Linked DNA regions of Homo sapiens: region 2 is linked to region 1. Evidence: promoter capture Hi-C in human tissues and cell types (Jung and others, 2019). All regions are on one chromosome and are shown on one strand. The core of a region is centred on a gene start or on the middle of the fragment in contact, and the rest is flanking DNA. Distances in the headings are between cores, read along the strand shown.

Region 1 (4,805 bases), core at 532-3,031:
CGTCAGGCGAGCTGAAGACTAAGCAAATCCCAGCAGCGGCCCTTTCTCTCTTTCGAGATGGTAAAAATTCTCCCCAAATACCTACAGTCCGTCTCAGTCGTCTTAATCCTAGCCGGGCCTCTTCGTTTACAGCCACTGAAATAAATGAGTAAATGGCTCAGTTCAAAAACACAACCAGACCTGAGATCTGATGAGGCCGGCTGCGGTGGTCGTGAATGAAAATTGGAGAAGCCTTGCTTCAGGAAATAGGGACAGTCAAGGGACACAAAGTCAAAAGGAGAGATGGGAAAGCTGGGGACACTTTGGTACACAAAGTTGCCATTAAAGTTTATTTCCCTTTTATCCAGATAGGTGACGCTACACTTTGCCAGTTACTAAAGGCTGCAGGTTTCTGCTCAGAAAATAATATCGAGGTTTCCAACATGTGTTTATTCCCCAGGCGCGCACACACGGTCTACCCCCGCAAGCAAGCACGACGACAGGAATGTCAAGCATTTAAACAAAGACAGACATCCTTCACCCTCCACCCACCGCCGCCCCTGCCCCCCGCAACCATCCAAAGTCTGAGCTCCCAAAAAAGGATCTTTCTCCAGCTCTCTGGAGTTTGATGTTCTCTCTTCACTACTGCAGCCCGTCATGGTTTTTCAGAACAGAGTGGCTTTCTGGGCGCTCGTAGGTTCCCCAGGACCCCGATAACCATGTCCTAACCAAGATCCTAAATCGCGAACCGGAGACACTTTCCGGGGGGAGGAGGACGTCGTCTGAGAGGGAGGGAGAAGGAGAAACCTATCCTGACACCAGCTCCGAAAGCTCTCACGCGTGAACTGGGCATTAGTCAAGGGAGGAGGAAATTTACCAGCCCGAGGGAGGGAAAACAAGTCCCCCAGAGAAGACGGCGGTACTCGCTAGGGAGGGGGACTGGGCTTTGGCTTAAAGAGGACTGGCTGGGATTGGGCACACTTTGAGCGGCCCCTGGAGCTGAGGCTGGGCTTTCCCGAGCGCGGCGGCTGGCTGACGCTCCCTCCCGCCTCCTTATCCCGGGCCCTCCTCCCTCGCTCTCTCCTAGTGTGTAGTTTCGGCGGCTCGGCTGCTACTGCCGCCGCCGCTGCAGCAGCAGCGTCAGGGACAAGCCTGATCCGTGAGCGAGCGAGCACCCAGCAGCAACCACCACTTTGGGCAACTTGCGGGTTTCCTGCTCGCGGGTAGCGAACGGGAGATTCCCACTAGCGGTTCAGTGTCTCCGAGCCGCTGCAGCCCGAGGGGCGGCGGGAGCGCCCGCACCAGACTCTCCCAGACGCGAAAAGGGACGAGACAACTGCGGAATTCACCAGCCGTGCCAGGGCACTTCCGAGGCCACAACCGACTGACACTTTTTCTCCCCTTGGCAAACTGGATTTTTTTTTTTAAGCTACTTGGCAGCTGTCTCTGACTCCACCTCCCCCTCCACCCCCGCCCGAAAGCCTTTGGCTTTTCTTCGGAAATCCAGACAGAATTGGGCATCTTTGTTAATTGCCGTTGGGGACGCCCGGCCGTGCGCTTTCGCCGGCTAACGTCGCCTGTGCTCCGAGCCTGGTTTGCTCACCTTTGAACTGCAAAGGGATCAAGTTCAGCTTGAGTTCCCTGCATTGGGAAGGAGAGAGAGCGTGCAAGAGAGCGAGTGGGAGAGGGGGAAAGGGGAAAGGAGAGGAGGGAGGAGAGAGAGGAGGGAGGAGAGAGAAAGGGAGGGAGGGAGGGGAGGGATCGAGAGAGAGCGGGGAGAGAGAGGCTGCAATCTCCTCCCTGAATCGCGCACAGCGCTGCAGATCCCACTGCTCCGACATGCGGGCCGAATGCAGGTGAGAAAAGGCACGGACTCTGCGGCTGCGAACCCAAACTTGGGCACCGCACGGTGCGCACTGCTCAGCCTTCGCCCCCGTGGGCGAAAGGCTGCTGCGGTTTCAGGCGGCTGCTTCGTGACTAATGACCTTGCGCAGAGTTGTTAAGAAAAAAGAGAAACCCGCGCTCTCCGGGGTGAGAAGGGACTGACTCTGGGCGTCTCTGAAGATGGCTCGGGCTTCTCTTTGGCGCGCCGGGGGGACCCTGACACTGACCGCTCTGTGACGCGAGTAGTCTCCCCTGCACCGTGCCCGAAGCGACGTGCCGGGGGATTTTTCATTCTCGATCTGTTGACTGGCTCCCCCGCTGCATGAGCAGAGTCGGAGTTGAGACTGGCTTGTTGCTGGCCCCAGCGCCTGGTGCAGGAAGCGACTCACGTTTGTCTGGGTGGCCGGAGCCGGAGCAGAGCCTGGGTTTGGAGTGAGTGCCTGGAACGTGAATTGGACTCAACTCGAGTAGCAGCAAAGACCAGCGGGCTGGCAGGCGGGGGAGGCTGCAGGCTCATTCCCCACCTCTTCCCAGCCCCACTGCCCGTCTGCCGGAGCGGTTCTGGCCCCTTCCGACAGAGCGGGGACTAGAGCCGGGGATTCTCCGCCCGCTGAGGGGATGACTCTGGGTTGGGGGAGCGCCGAACCCGCGGCGCGCAGTGTCCCGTGAACTGTGAGTACTGCGACTGAACGGCGGCAGGCGAGCGGGCGATTAGCACCCATTGCATGAATTATGAAACAATAACTTTCGGAAGAAGCAGGAGGAAAAAAAGAAGCATCTATCGCTGCCCTCCCACCCCCATTCCCGGCCAACTCTCCACGCCGCTTTTGCCCCCTCCCTCCCCTCCCTCTCGCTCCTTCCTTTCCGGGAGAGGGGAGAGGACTCGGGGGAGGGCAGGCGGCCGGCCCCGGAGGAGGGGGGCGCCGAGGGGGCTGTGGTTAGAAGGAGCAGTAGCAGCAGCAGCAGGAGAAGATGCTGAGGATGCGGACCGCGGGATGGGCGCGCGGCTGGTGCTTGGGCTGCTGCCTCCTCCTGCCGCTCTCGCTCAGCCTGGCGGCCGCCAAGCAGCTCCTCCGGTACCGGCTGGCCGAGGAGGGCCCCGCCGACGTCCGCATCGGCAACGTGGCTTCAGACCTGGGCATCGTGACCGGATCGGGTGAGGTGACTTTCAGCCTGGAGTCCGGTTCCGAGTACCTGAAGATCGACAACCTCACTGGCGAGCTGAGCACGAGCGAGCGGCGCATCGACCGCGAGAAGCTGCCCCAGTGTCAGATGATCTTCGACGAGAACGAGTGCTTCCTGGACTTCGAGGTGTCGGTGATCGGGCCCTCGCAGAGCTGGGTGGACCTGTTTGAGGGTCAGGTCATCGTGCTTGACATCAACGACAACACGCCCACCTTCCCGTCGCCCGTGCTCACGCTCACGGTGGAGGAGAATCGGCCGGTGGGCACACTTTACCTGCTGCCCACAGCCACCGACCGCGACTTCGGCCGCAACGGCATCGAGCGCTACGAGCTGCTCCAGGAGCCCGGAGGCGGCGGCAGCGGCGGCGAGAGCCGGCGCGCCGGGGCGGCCGACAGCGCCCCCTACCCCGGGGGCGGCGGGAACGGCGCGAGCGGCGGCGGCTCGGGAGGCTCCAAGCGGCGGCTGGACGCATCAGAGGGCGGCGGCGGCACCAACCCCGGCGGCCGCAGCAGCGTGTTCGAGCTGCAGGTGGCGGACACCCCGGACGGCGAGAAGCAGCCGCAGCTGATCGTGAAGGGGGCGCTGGACCGCGAGCAGCGCGACTCCTACGAGCTGACCCTGCGAGTGCGCGACGGCGGCGACCCGCCTCGCTCCTCGCAGGCCATCCTACGGGTCCTCATCACCGACGTGAACGACAACAGCCCCCGCTTCGAGAAGAGCGTGTACGAGGCCGACTTGGCTGAGAACAGCGCCCCGGGGACCCCCATCCTGCAACTGCGCGCAGCCGACTTGGACGTGGGGGTCAACGGGCAGATCGAATACGTGTTCGGGGCGGCCACCGAGTCGGTGAGGCGGCTGCTGCGCCTTGACGAGACGTCCGGCTGGCTCAGCGTCCTGCACCGGATCGACCGCGAGGAGGTGAACCAGCTGCGCTTCACGGTCATGGCCCGCGACCGCGGGCAGCCCCCCAAGACCGACAAGGCCACCGTGGTCCTTAACATCAAAGACGAGAACGACAACGTGCCGTCCATTGAAATCCGCAAGATTGGGCGCATCCCCCTCAAGGACGGGGTGGCCAACGTGGCCGAGGACGTTCTGGTCGACACCCCCATCGCTCTGGTGCAGGTGTCCGACCGAGACCAAGGCGAGAACGGGGTGGTCACCTGCACCGTGGTGGGCGACGTGCCCTTCCAGCTCAAGCCAGCCAGCGACACCGAGGGCGACCAGAACAAGAAAAAGTACTTCTTGCACACCTCGACCCCTCTGGACTATGAGGCCACCCGGGAGTTCAACGTGGTCATCGTGGCGGTGGACTCAGGCAGCCCCAGCCTCTCGAGCAACAACTCCCTGATTGTCAAGGTGGGAGACACCAACGACAACCCGCCCATGTTCGGCCAGTCGGTGGTGGAGGTTTACTTCCCTGAGAACAACATCCCGGGCGAGAGGGTGGCCACGGTGCTGGCGACAGACGCAGACAGCGGTAAGAACGCCGAGATCGCCTACTCGCTGGACTCCTCTGTGATGGGGATCTTTGCCATCGATCCCGATTCTGGGGACATCCTGGTCAATACCGTGCTGGACCGCGAGCAGACTGACAGGTATGAGTTTAAAGTTAACGCCAAAGACAAAGGCATCCCCGTGCTGCAGGGCAGCACTACGGTGATTGTGCAGGTGGCTGATAAAAATGACAATGACCCTAAGTTTATGCAGGACGTCTTCACCTTTTATGTGAAAGAAAACTTGCAGCCCAACAGCCC
Region 2 (5,073 bases), core at 1,239-3,738, 130 kb before region 1:
TTGAATTTTATCAAAGGTGTTTTCTGCATCTATTGAGATTATCATGTGGTTTTTGTCTTCAGTTCTGTTTATGTGATGGATTACGCTTATTAATTTTTGTACGTTGAACCAGCCTTGCATCCCGGAGATGAAGCTGACTTGATCGTGGTGTATGAGCTTTTTGATGTGCTGCTAAATTCAGTTTGCCGGTACTTTACTGAGGATTTTTGCGTCGATGGTAATCAGGGATGTTGGCTTGAAGTTTTCTTTTTTTGTTGTATCTCTGCTGGGTTTTGATATCAGGATGATGCAGGCCTCATAAAACGAGTTAGGGAGGAGTCTCTCCTTTTCAATTGTTTGCAATAGTTTCAGGAGAAATGGTACCAGCTTCTCTTTGAACCTCTGGTAGCATTTGGCTGTCACTCCATCTGGACCTGGGATATTTTTTTTTGGTTGGTAGGCTATTTATTACTGCCTCAATTTCAGAACTTGTTATTGGTCTCTTCAGGGATTCAACTTCTTCCTAGTTCAGTCTTGGGCTGGTGTATGTGTCCAGGAATTTATCTATTTCTTCTAGATTTTCCAGTTTATTGACATAGAGGTGTTTATAATATTCTCTGGTGGTATTTTCTGTCTTGATGATCTGTCTAATACAGACAGTATTAGACAGTGGGAGTATTAAAGTCTCCCACTATTATTGTTTGGAGGCCTAAATGTCTTTGTAGGTCTCTAAAAACTTGTTTTATGAATCTGCGTGCTACTGTATTGGGTGCATATATATTTAGGATAGTTAGCTCTTCTTATTAAACTGAACCATTCAACATTATGTAATGCCCTTCTCTGTCTTTTTTGACTTTTGCTAATTTAAAGTCTATTTTGTCAGAAACTAAGATTGAAACCTCTGCTTTTTTCTGCTTTCCAATTGCTTGGTAAATTTTCCTCCTTCTTTTTATTTTGAGTCCATGTGCGTCTTTGCACATGAGATGTGTCTCTTGAGTACAGCACACAAATGGTTCCTGTCTTTGTATGCAGCTTGCCATTCTGTGTCTTTTAATTGTGGCATTTAGCCCATTTACATTTAAGGTTAATATTGTTGTGTGTGAATTTGATTCTGTCATCATGATGCTGGCTGGTAAATTTTGCAGACTTGTTAATGTAATCGCTTCATAGTGTCATTGGTCTGTGTACTTCATTGTGTTTCTGCAGTGGCTGGTAACAGGTTTTCCTATCCATGTTTAGTGCTTCCTTCAGGAGCTCTTGCAAGGCAGGCCTGGTGGTCACAAAATTCCTCAGCATTTGCTTCTCTGAAAAAGATTTTATTTCTCCTTTGCTTATGAAGCTTAGTTTGGCTGGATATGAAATTCTGGGTTGGAATTTCTTTTTCTTTAAGAATGTTGAATATTGGCCCCCAATCTCCTAGATTGCAGGGTTTCCACAGAGATGTCTGCCGTTAGTCTGATGGACTTCCTTTTGTAGGTGACCTGGCCTTTCTCTCTTGCTACCCTTAACATTTTTTCCCTCATTTCGACCTTAGAGAATAAGATGTTTATGTGTCTTGGGGTAGATCTTTTTATGAAGTGTCTTATTGGGATTCTCTGGATTTCTTGAATTTGAATATTGGCTTGTCTTGCTAAGTTGAAGAAGTTATCCTGGATGATATCCTGAAGTGTGTTTTCCAACTTGGTTCCTTTCTCCCATCTCTTTCAGCTACTCCAATCAGTCATAGGTTCAGTCTTTTTACATAGTTCCATAATTCTTAGAGGTTTTGTTTCTTTTCATTCTTTTTTCTCTAATCTTGTCTGTCTGTTTTATTTCAGCAAGATAGTCTTCAAGCTCTGATATTCTCTCTTCTGCTTAGTCGATTAGGCTATTGATACTTGTGTTTGCATAACAAAGTTCTCATGCTCTGTTTTTCAGCTCCCTCAGGTCATTTATGTTCCTCTCTAGACTGGTTATTCTAGTTAACAGCACCTGTAATCTTTTATCCTGCTTCTTGGCTTCTCTGCATTGAGTTAGAACATAATCCTTTAGCTCAGCGAAATTCATTTTTCTAAAATTCACTTTCTAAAACCTACTTCTGTCAGTTCATCCATCTCAGCTTTAGCCCCATTCTGTTCCCTTGCTGGAGATGTGTTGCAACCATTTGGAAGAGAAGAGGCATTCTGGTTTTTGGTATTTTCAGCGTTTTTGCATTCGTTTTTCCTCCTCTTTGTGAGTTTATCTACCTTTGAGGCTGGTGACTTTGGATGGGGTTTTTGTGGGGTCTTTTTTGTTGATGCTGCTGTTGTTGTTGTTGCTTCCTGTTTGTTTTTCCTCTATCAGTCCGGCCCCTCTTCTGCAGGTCTGCTGCAGTTTGCTGGGGGTCCACTGCAGCCCCTGTTCACCTGGGTATCACCAGTAGAGGTTGCAGAACAGCAAAGATTGCTGTCTGATCCTTCCGCCGGAAGCTTCATCCCAGAAGGGCACCAACTTGATGCCAGACGGAACTGTCCTGTATGAGGTGTCTGCCGACCCATGTTGGGAGGTCTCACCCAGACAGGTGGCACAGGGTCAGGGACCCTCTTGAGGAGGCAGTCTGTCCCTTAGCAGAGCTGGTGTGCTATTCTGGGGGAAATCCCTTTTGTCAGGATCAGCTGATCTTTTCAGAGCTGACAGGCGGGAAAAATTAAGTCTGCTGAACCTGGGACCACGGTGCTCTGTCCCAGGGAAATGAGAGTTCTGTCTGTTAGCCCCTGACTGGAGCCAGTGGACTTCCTGCAGGGTCGCCCTGCCCCGTGAGGAGGGATCTAGAGAAGCAGTCTGGCCACAGCTGCTTTGCTGCACCATGGGGATTTCCACCCAGTCCAAATCTCCCAGTCTTCTTAGCATTGTCAAGGGAAAACCACCTACTAAACCCACAGAAATGGAGGTCTCCACGGCCCTCCTACCGCCAGTGGAACTCGGCCGTCCCAGGTGGACTCCAGACTGCTGTTCTAGCAATGGGGATTTCAAGCCAGAGGTTCTTAGCTTGCTGGGCTCCGTGGGAGTGGAACCCGCTGAGCCAGACCACTTGGCTCCCTGGTTTCAGCCCCCTTTCCATAGGAGTGCATGGTTCTCCTGTCTCACTGGAGTTTCGGGCACTGCTGGATTATGTAAAAACTCCTGCATCTCAGTGTCTGCCTGAAAAGCCACCCAGTTTTGTGCTTAAGACCCAGGGCCCTGGTGGCATAGGCCACCAACTGCAGAAATCCACGGGAAAAGCGTAGCACCCCTGGCAGGTTGCACAATCCCTCACTGTTTCCCTTGCCTGGGGAAGGGAAGTCTTCCTGCTCCAAGCACTTCCCGGGTGAAGTGATGCCTCACCTTGCTTCTGTTCACTCTCCGTGGGTCGTAGCCACCACCTAGCCAGTCCCATGAGAATGTTAGTTGGAAATGCAGAAATCACCCGCCTTCTTCATTGGTCTCACTGGGAGCCGCTTCTATTTGGCCATCTTGGCCCCTTGGTTGATTATTTTTCTAACCATTTCAGATAAGTAGATAATTCAATTAGCTTAATTATTTTCCATTCAGTAATGTAAATATTTAAGCTATAAATATCCCTATGAGTGTTGCTTTAGTTAGCTTCCAAAGGTTTAGCTTTGAAGGGTTTAATCATTATTACTTATAAAATATATGGCAATTTAGGATTGATTGTATTCTTTGAAAAAAAGGGTCATTAAGGGCAGTTTGTGTTTTTAATAATCAGATTTCTGAGGCTCTAGTTTTTCATATTTCAAGTAATTTTTAGTTTCAATCTCGAAGTTTCTATTCTGTTGAAGTTTTTAAAATTTCTATTCACTCTAACAAAGAAAATGCTCTTTATTTCAGGATATGATTTTAATTTATGTCTATTGGATTTATTCATTAATTATGTTACCTATATTCTCTATAGTCTTTAATGTCTTCTCTAACTCTTATGTTTCAGTCTCTTTCTCCTTAAAAAGTTTTTATTAATTATTGATGCAACATTATACGATGTATGAATTATCATGAAAATTAGAGCCTTGGCACTTATTACACTTTCTTTTAACCCCTCCATCTTCTTCTATTTTTATTTTTATTTTTAGCTAGTGCTAACCAGCCCCAATTTCTTCAACTCTTCCTTATATGAAGATTTCCAGTCCCATTATCCTGAATATTTTCTTCTAATATCATTTTGTCTGGCAATGTCCTCCTGAAATGTGGTATTAAAAATGAAGCATTGCAGTGCATAGTGACTCACTCCTGTAATCCCAGCACTTTGGGAGGCCGAAGCAGGAGGAAAGCTGGAGCGCAAGAGTTGAGACTAGCCTGGGCAACATGGTGAACCCCTGTCTCTACAAAAACTACAAAAATTAGCTGGGCATGTTGGCATACAGATAGGTGGGTAGTAGTCCCAGCAACTTGGAAGGCTGAGGTGGAGGCATCTCTTGAACCCAAGAGGTGGAGGCTGCAGTGAGCCACGAATAGGCCCCTACACTCCAGCCTGGGTGACAGAGTGAGGCCCTGTATTTTTTTTAAAAAGTATAATCCTATCTGTTATCTGACCAACATGGATCACCGTGGAATGGAAATATTGCCTCTCTCAATTTTGTCACCATGCTTCTACTAATTCTGGCTAAGATGGCATATAAGCAGCCAAATTCCCAGGTCACATTGAATATGAATTCATTAAATCTCATTACATTATATTGCTGATCCTATTGATATTCATGTCTACATTTCTTTACATATACTAGGTACTCTAAAAATATTTGTTGAATACAAGAATATAGAAACAAATACATGATGTACAGATTACAAAATTTATACAATTAAGGTCTTCTATAAAGGGCAATATTTATTAACTTTGTGTTTGTAGATAAAAGTTACATTCCTAATTTACTTCAATTAAGTCAATAAATGTCATTCTTGAAAGTTATGGGTTCGTAATTGCAGTCACTTACTGTAATTATGCAACACTTGCTTTGAGAAAAGACAAGCAATTTTGAACTGTGTGGCAAATGATACCTAATGTAATGTTAGCAATTTATAACTGGGTAACTCTTTAACAGTCCAAGAGCTATAATAAATACTTCCAGTGATGCTTTACCAGTA

The links. Contacts are between HindIII fragments. The study calls those that stand out against the background at their distance.
Region 2: a fragment that was not itself captured here is called in contact with the fragment with the promoter of PCDH7 in region 1 in 2 of the 25 tissues and cell types used here (H1 embryonic stem cells and mesendoderm cells).

The regions. Positions count from the first base shown.
Region 1 is chr4:30,718,588-30,723,392 of GRCh38, forward strand. It overlaps PCDH7 (protocadherin 7), which reads left to right and starts at 1,782. Exons shown (of 3, transcript NM_001173523.2): 1 at 1,782-4,805. The coding sequence starts at 2,836. LOC124900844 reads right to left here and starts at 534. Exons shown (of 1, transcript XM_047416545.1): 1 at 1-534. RefSeq lists an enhancer at 2,591-3,301. The HindIII fragment of the contact is 10,727 bases long and covers 1-4,805 here.
Region 2 is chr4:30,584,185-30,589,257 of GRCh38, forward strand. No RefSeq gene overlaps it. Among named protein-coding and RNA genes, the nearest start is that of PCDH7, 130 kb to the right of the region's middle. The HindIII fragment of the contact is 5,151 bases long and covers 1-5,064 here.